Regions from separate parts of the Homo sapiens genome. Here region 1 is linked to region 2. Evidence: promoter capture Hi-C in human tissues and cell types (Jung and others, 2019). All regions are on one chromosome and are shown on one strand. Each heading gives the region's core, a stretch centred on a gene start or on the middle of the fragment in contact. The rest is flanking DNA. Distances are from core to core; before and after follow the strand shown.

Region 1 (4,115 bases), core at 722-3,221, 160 kb before region 2:
CTAATTTTTGTATTTTTAGTAGAGACAGGGTTTCGCCATGTTGGCCAGGCTGATCTCAAACTCCTGACCTCTGGTGATCCTCCCACCTTGGCCTCCCAAAGTGCTGGGATTACAGGCGTGAGCCACTGCACCTGGCCTATTTATTTATTTATTTATTTGAGGCTGAGTCTCGCTCTGTCGCCCAGGCTGGAGTGCTGTGGAGTGCTCCCTGCAACCTCCGCCTCCTGGGTTCAAGCGAATCTCCTGCCTCAGCCTCCCGAGTAGCTGGGACTACAGGTGCCCACCACCACACCTGGCTAATTTTTTCTATTTTTAGTAAAGATGGGATTTCACCATGTTAGCCAGGCTGGTCTCGAACTCCTGACCTCAAGTGATCTGCCCGCCTCGGCCTCTCAAAGTGCTAGAATTACAAGCATGAGCCACCGCGCCCAGACTCCCTTTGCCCTTCTTCTGATGCCAAGGGGCGCAGGGTCCTGTCCTTACAGGGCTCGAGTGGCTGCATGTGAGGAGGCTGCTCCACACCAGTGTCCACGCCAGAGCTCGGCTCAGTGGCCTGGAGGAAGCTCCCACGGTGATGTGGAGTCTCCAGCTGCTCTCCTGCCCGTGGACTTTCCACCTCATATTTCTGGAGTTCTGGACTCTCACCAGCTCTTCCACACTCCCTCACTCCTCTACTCCAACGTGGAAATAAACAGAGAACATGAATGAGAAGGCGCAAAGGCCATGATTCAGGGCTTGCTGGGTAACAAGGGGGCAGCCACCACCACCTGTGTTTGAGAGGGACTCAAAGGCGGGCGGGGTAGGGAAGCTCTCGGGTGGCGTAAGCCAAAAAGTATCTGTGACAGAACTCCATCGATTCAGAGGATTATTTGCCAAGGTCGAGGACGCGCCAGAGGAAGAGAAACACGAGTTGCAGTAGGATCTGTGGCCTGTGCTTTTTCCCAGGAGATTTGAGGACTTCAACATTTAAAGAGGGGGCTGGCCGCGGTGGCTCATGCCTATAATCCCAGCACTTTGGGAGGCTGAGGCAGGAGGATCACCTGAGGTCAGGAGTTTGAGACCCGGCTGGCCAACATGACGAAACTCCGTCTCTACTAAAAATACAAAAATTAGCTAGGCGTGGTGGCAGGCACCTGTAATCCCAGCTACTTGGGAGGCTGAGGCAGGAGAATCTCTTGAATCCAGGAGGCAGAGGTTGCAGTGAGCCGAGATCACGATACTGCACTCCAGCCTGGGCGACAAGAGCAAGACTCCGTCTCAAAAAAAAAAAAAAAATTTAAAGAGGGAAGAGCAGGAAGGAAGGGAAGGAAGAAAGGACAAAGGGAGGGAGAGCAGGCAGCAGGGGAAGGAAAAGGAAAAGGGAGGGAGAGCAGGCAATGAGGGAAGTTGTTATGTTCCTGTGAGGCTTTGATTAGTACTCACTGAATCCACATTTTACACAGGAAAAGAGGTGTGCTTAATAAATATATGTTTTACGTAAGATAAAGTAAGCATGTGAGATGACAGCTGGCTATTTGGGAACAAAAGGAAGGTAAGTTTTTGTTTGTTTTTGTGTGACTCAGCCAGGCATGGGGGCTCCCACCTGTTATCCCAGCACTTTGGGAGGCCGAGGCAGGGGGCTCACTTGAGCCTAAGAGTTCAAGACCAGCCTGGGCAACATGGCAAAACCCCATCCCTACAAAAAATACAAAAAATTAGCAGAGTGTGGTGGCATGCACCTGTAGTCCTACCTACTTGGGAGGCTTGAGGTGGGAGGATCACCTGAGCCGGGAGGTCAAGGATGCAGTGAGCTGTGATCGTGCCTCTGAATGCCAGCATGGGTGAGAATGAGACCCTGAAAAAAAAGAAGAAGAAGGAGAAGAAAGAAAAAAGAGAGAGAAGAAAGGAAAGAAAGAAAGAGAGAAAGAAAGGAAGAAAGAAGGAAAGAAGGAAAAGAAAGAAAGAAAGAAAGAAAGAAAGAAAGAAAGAAAGAAAGAAAGAAAGAGAGAAAGAGAGAAAGAAAAGAACAGAAAAAAAGGAAGAAGGAAAGGAGGGGAGGGGAGGGGAGGGGGAAAGGAAAGGGAAGCTTCAGGTTTACCTTGATGGAGGCTGTGGGCCTAGGAAGCTGGAAGCAGCTCACTAGAAGAGGACAGGGCATCCTATGGGATTGGTTAGAGGGGCATACTTGGCTTTACTTTTTTTTTTTTTTTTTTGAGACAGTGTCTCACTCTGTTGCCCAGGCTGGAGTGCAGTGGTGCCATCTGGGCTCGCTGCAGCCTCAACTTCATGGGCTCAAGCAATCCTCCCACCTCGGCCTCCCAGGTAGCTGGGACTACAGGTGTGTGCCACCACACCTGGCTAATTTTTATATTTTTTGTAGAGATGGGGTCTCACTACATTGCCCAGGCTGGTCTCAAATTCCTGGGCTCAAGAGATCCACCCGCATTAGCCTCCCAAAGTGCTGGGATCATAGGTGTGAGCCCCTGCATCCAGCCCATATTTGGCTTTTTCTTGGAAATGGGGATAAATTGGAAGCAGGGATGAGAATTAGGGAAACTGTCGATTACAAATCAAGTCCTGGCCAAGTGGAGTCAATTGGTTGACTTCTTGGACCAGTCATTAGAACTGATCGCCTGACTTCCGCAAGTATGACTTGTAGCTAGCAGACAGCAGGCTGGCTTCCTGGGCTGGTCGTTGTAGAGGATGGCGGGGCTTCCTGGGCTGGTTGCTGCAGATTGTGGGTCAGAGATCTATTTTTATGTCTGGTCTGGCCGCTGGCCATTTGTAGAGTCAGTCTCTCACCAGCAATCTGTGATTATCATCCTAGTTTTTCAGACAAGTAAACTGGGAATCAGAAAAGTGAGCTGACGTAGCTAAGGTCACAGAACTAGTAAGTTTCAGAACCTGGACAGGAATCTGCCGGTCTCAGCCTTCCGCAGGCAAAGTTCACAGCTGACTCATTTTTGCCTCCTTGTCTCCCACTCTTAATTACCCCAGTACTTTGGGCATGTTCTCAATAAGTATTTATTGAATGAATGAATACAAATTTTTATGACGTCAGTGAGGAAACCAGAGAGGAAAGCCAGAAGAGAGTGAGGGGTCTTCGCTGAGGAGGCCCCTGTAATGAGAACGACGCCGCTGGGTTCTCTTGGCCACCTCTTCTCTGGCATCCTGCAAGAATCCCAGGTCCTTGGTTGGAGCCTGGAACCACTGGCTGAGAGACTTGTGGGTCTGGGCCAGCTTGGCCAGGAGGGACCTGGCGTTGGTTTGGAAGGGTGAGAGTCGGGGGAGCCTGCACCCCACGGGGTTACATTGTTATAATTAACATACTGGGGACGGCTGTCGGATCTCACTGAGAGGAGGGGCAGTCAATGGTGGGGAAGGGCACTTCCTCCCAGGAGCCGCCTGGGGATCCAACCAGGTGGGGAGGGTCAGGAGCCTCAGGCACTACGGAAGGCAGAATTCTAAGCCCGTCCCATGGACTCCATCCCTGTCCCCAGAGTTACTCCCTTGACCATATTATAGGGCTACACAGTGAAAGGGATTTATGGTGTAAGAACGGTACCCCAGGGAAACAGCGGTGGCTGGGGAGGTCAGGTGGACCTGGGGGGCCAGGTGTCCAGGCTGCCTGTCCCACCATGTCCCGGACTGGCCTCATGGCCCTAGGCCCCTCCCTAAGCCCCAGTTTCTACATCTGCGAAGTGAGGCGCTGGCCCAAGTAATCTAACCCTACCTGTTGTGATCCAGATTCTTTTGAGCCCCAGGGAGGCCAGGATTAAGGCCGGCTCCCCTGGGTTCCAGCCGATCAGGGGAGTGTGGGTGGTTTCTCGGGCCTGTGGAAGGAAAGAAGCCGAAGAAATCACTCTTGAAAAGTGGCCGCTATACGAGCGGGCTGGCTGGGTGATCCCTGTGGCATTCTGGTCCCTCTCCCTCCTGCCTCAGTTCCTCTATGACCTCAAGATGGAAGAGCCACACCTACAAAGAAAAAAAGACTATCTGTGAGAAACAGGTGTGCGTGTTGATTTTTCCAAGGGCTTGGCTCAGCTTTGGGCTGAAAATCCCCAGGCCATCCACAAGGGGTGTGGTCACAACCCAATAAAGACTTCAGTCTCAGAGCCTGGGACCATCCCATCAAC
Region 2 (4,377 bases), core at 1,397-3,896:
AGGCCATTGGACCATCCTCTCAGCAGGAGGGAATGCCCAGGAAGAAAGATCTAGAGAGGGGATGCCCGGTGAAGCCTGGGCGGCGGCCCGTGGTGAATACAGCTGGATAAGGGCCCTTTCCTCCTCTCCCTGGCGCCCTCAGGTGGGATCTTAGCTCCTCACTCCTAGATAGGAAGGCACAAAGGGCGCAGGAGGGACACGTCGCCCCCGGGGAAATGGAGAACAAGAAGATGCTCCGAGGAACCTGGGACATTGTCAGAAGAAAACGATGGAAAAGCAACCACACTGAGGCCACTGGGTTTGTGTCTTGTGAGACAGGAGGGGGCCTTTGAGGGAAGAATGATCTTCGGCACGGGAAAGGGCCCTCAGGTCCGTGCCAGTCTCAGCTCATTTCCATCCACAGGTCCCTTTGCCTGAGGGGGCAATTTCTGGGGTTCCCTCCTGTGGTAAAAGGTGCCAGAGAATAAGGGGGACACACAGGTCAGCCTCAGGGGCAGGATGTGGTTCCCAGGAGCATGAGAACCCCACCCAGGGCTCTGGGGCTCCTTCCTGTGTCCTCCAGTGGCTGCTGCAGGAGCTCCCAGGACAGGGCTGTGAGGCTGCGGCCTCAGGACCCTCCAGACAGGGCGGCATCCATGCAGGCCCCAGGGCAGGGGCAGCCTTGAGTGAGAGGAGCCAATGATGGGGGGGTCCAATTCCCCGTGGGGAAGAGCGAGTTAGACCCAGGCGGGACAGTGGGCACCCTTCAGTATGGATCCGGCCCTTGTCAATACAGGGAGGTAGCAAGGACCCCAGAGTCAGGGGTGGCCTCACAGACCCCACCCAGGAAAGTTTCAGGCCTGAGGCCGTGAGGGAGGGCCCACAGCGGGGGGTCTCCAGCCACAGGGCCAGGGTGCTTTTGTGGGCGCCCACCCTCCCAACACACACATGCAGGTGCACACACACACAAACCACACCACAACTCCTATGCAGGCACGCATACACAAAGACGCACTCACACTCATCCACACACAGCGGCACACAGTGTCCTGACTCACCAACCCCCAGGCTCACACCCTCCTGTTCCACTTCTTTCTTCAGGGACAGAATGACCAGCCCTAGGCTCAGGCAGGCCTGGTGCTGAGAAAAGGAGGGGCTCACCCGGGAACACGGACACCTCAACCTCGACAATGGGATCATGAAAGTCTCGGAGCCACGGTGTATCCACCCCACACCAGTAGGTGCCTGCGTCCTCCTCTGTGAGATTCTCCAGGGTCACTGTGAAGCTGAGGTTTGCAGGACTGTCCCTGATGGACACTCGGCCATTCCTTTTCCCTGCTGACCCTTTGGTCTCCACAATCTTGTCACATCGGAGAATCTGTGGTGGTCTGCACCAGAATTTGTTGAGGGTCCTGTGTTCCTTCTCATAGCGACACTGCACACTCAGGGATCCCCCCACGGGGCCCGCCACGGTCATGGGGTGGCTCAGAGGAAAATAGCCTGAAAAATACAAGCCAAAATCCTGTCTCCTTACCAGAGGGGCCTGGTCAGGGGTGCCGCAGTGTCAGCCCCTCATGGACCCTGGGCGTGTGGAGAAGGCAATGGCAGGCAGGCAGCCTTTGTCCACCCAGGAACAGGGACTGAGGGTGGGAGGCTCCCTCTGTGCAGAGGTGGGAAGGGCATGGGAAGTTTCCATGGAGACTGGAAAGGCAAGGCTAGGGAAACACTGGGTGTGTGCGGGCCTGTGTGTGCATGTGAGTGTGACTCTGTGTGTGTGACTGTGTGAGTGTGACTGTCTGTGTGAGTGTGACTGTGTGTGACTGTGTGTGCATGTGTGACTGTGTGTGCATGTGAGTGTGACTGTGTGTGCATGTGTGACTGTGTGCATGTGTGTGTGAGACTGTGTGAGTGTGACTGTGTGTGCATGTGTGTGAGACTGTGTGAGTGTGACCGTGTGTGCGTGTGAGTGTGACTGTGTGTGTGATCGTCCCAGATAAAATTTGTGATTGGATAACTTTGGCAATGACAGTCACAGCATCACCTCCCACCAGGGCTTCCTGTCTCGGGCACAGAGGAATAGGCCTCCCCCGTGCTGTGCCCTGCCGCCTGCTGTCCCCTGGTGAGGCAGCTGCTGACCGCTCCTGGGTGCTCCTTTGCCCTCCTCCCCTCTCCCTGCCCCACTCCCCTCTATGACCGCTACTCCAGCGCCTGCACCCCTCCCTGCCCTCTCCCACTCAGGACAGAGCTCCCCAAGTCCAGGGTCGGCCCACTCACCTGGGACAAGCAGGAGGAGCAGAGCTGAAGACCGCCACGAGGCCCAGGCCCTGGCAGTCATTCCTGTAACACGAATGTCACCTGCCACTGTGCAAGACCCCAGGAGGGGACAAAATGTAATCTCCTCCCAGCAGATCTGAGCTTCGCTTCTGCTTTTCTTCTGCTCTCTGCTTCCTTGTCCAGCCCTGTCTCAGGTCTGAGGCTGGAGAGGGTCAGGGTACAGGAAGCTCAGGGAGAGAGCCGCCTGGGCTGAGGCCGGTGCTGACAGCTCTGGGATGGTGCTAGTGGCTCCTCTCAACCCTGACGTCTGGCAAAGTCCAGGGTCCCTTGGGTGGCGATGCAGCCACTTCCCCACAGCCCACAGCTTCTGGCTTCAGTGTGTTACTCACACTGCAGAAGGCAGAGCCAAGCTGGGCCATTTCCTACCACATGGGCTGCTCCACCCTCTGTGACATGTCACTTCCTGGTCAGGATGGACAATCTTGTGGTTGGAGGCTAAATCTGCCACCTTCTTTAGCCTTGGAGGTGACCAGAGAGAGGTTGTGTCCCTTAATCTTCAGCTAGGTCCCCGCAGAGACCTCTGCCCCTAAGACCCCCAGCTCTTCTTCTGGCCTCAGAAGTTAGCGCTATGAACCCAGACACCATCTGCATGTCCCTTTTTGGTGCTGAGTCCCCAACCAGGTTAAAATCCCACAGGCTTGGGGAGTTTTCCTCTTGTGCCCCTGCCCCCAGACCTACACACACAGCGGCATCACCCACCCGAGACCCTCCTTTTCCATCTTGTCTTCTTGCCAAAATCCATGCCCCAGTGGGAATCAGGGCAGAGAACTGAGAATAGAGAGAGAGTTCAGACATGTGAAGATGCTGAAGTGGGACTTTGTGGAGGATGTGAGGCTGCGACTGAGCCAGCACACACCCCAGGGCACACGGAGGGGTGTTTGGTGACTGAGAGGACAGTTTGTCATGAGCAGCGGCTGCTGGTGTCTATCCTGGGTCCACTGTGATGGCCAGGGGCCTCCGCAGGGAGCAGACATGGCAGACAGGCCTTCCCAGGAGGCGGGAACCCAGGTCTATCCACACTCGGCATGGCTGGTTCTCCTGACGTGATGGGCTCAGGGTGTCTTTACCCTGGAAAGGGCAAGGAGGCTAGTCAGACACAGGATTTACCTCCTGTCTGTCCTGGAGGGCATCACCCCTTCTCCACCTTCTCATGCCTTAAGCATATTCCTTGACTCTCCCAACCCTCCTACAGATTTCTGTTCCTTTCTTCCTATCAGAGTCAATAGCACCAGTATGTGCACACAGCCATGAGGTTGAGTGGAGAGTGATGGGAGTCTGGGCAAACCTGGCACCATGAAGGGGTCTCTGCACCCTCGACCTGCCCTGTCCTCCCTCCATTTACACTCTCAGGGACACAGCATGCACTGGGGTCATTGGTGTTGATGCCCCCAGACTCACATCATGGGACTATCTCTAGCCCAGTGCAATCCCAGGGCCTCCAATTAGCCCAGTGCTCAGGTCTGGCCTGGGCCTGGCTTTGAAGTATCCCGGCTCTTTCATGGGCTGACCTGGTCTCCCCTTCTGCTCATACCCACCCCTTTCATTCTCCACAGAATCAGCAATGTGATCCCTGACACACACACATGGCCCTGGGGAGGCGCTGCTGAACTCCCAATGGCTCCTGCTGTCACAGGATGGCACCCACCTGACCTGGCCTCTGCACACAGGTCCTGGCAGGCCCCAGCACCTGGTAGGTGTCTCCAGCCTCCTGGATCCAGGTTCACACTGGTGCTGCCACCCTCCCCACTCGGGCCTTTGTCCAGACCCTCAACCTCCCACTCCTCTGCCTGGCTCCAGCCGACAGGGTTGCCTGCGTGTTCCTTGACCTTCCCGGGTTATGGTGGCTCGCTTTTTAGGGGTCCTCATGACCCATTTCACACTTCCCTCTCGTCTTCCTCAGTCTTTCTGTTGGCGAGTCAATGTCTGCTCCCATCTAGGGTGGCCGCCCCTTGAGAGCAGGTGCAGCCTCTTGTCTCATTCACAGCTGTGCCCGTTATCATTCCAGAGTCTGCCAAGTGCAGTTTAACAAACTGGCTGTTGAAAGGATGAATGGGTGAATGGATA

The links. The method cuts DNA at HindIII sites, captures the fragments that hold promoters and counts their contacts. A contact is called where the count stands out against the background at its distance.
Region 1: a fragment that was not itself captured here is called in contact with the fragment with the promoter of CD300C in region 2 in 1 of the 25 tissues and cell types used here (thymus).

Annotation. Positions count from the first base shown.
Region 1 is chr17:74,383,808-74,387,922 of GRCh38, forward strand. No RefSeq gene overlaps it. Among named protein-coding and RNA genes, the nearest start is that of GPR142, 18 kb to the left of the region's middle. RefSeq lists an enhancer at 2,959-3,853. The HindIII fragment of the contact is 6,667 bases long and covers 1-4,115 here.
Region 2 is chr17:74,543,469-74,547,845 of GRCh38, forward strand. CD300C (CD300c molecule) reads right to left here and starts at 2,647. Exons shown (of 4, transcript NM_006678.5): 1 at 2,254-2,647; 2 at 1,141-1,479. The coding sequence starts at 2,314. It also overlaps a transcript of LOC107985074 not described here. The HindIII fragment of the contact is 17,316 bases long and covers 1,391-4,377 here.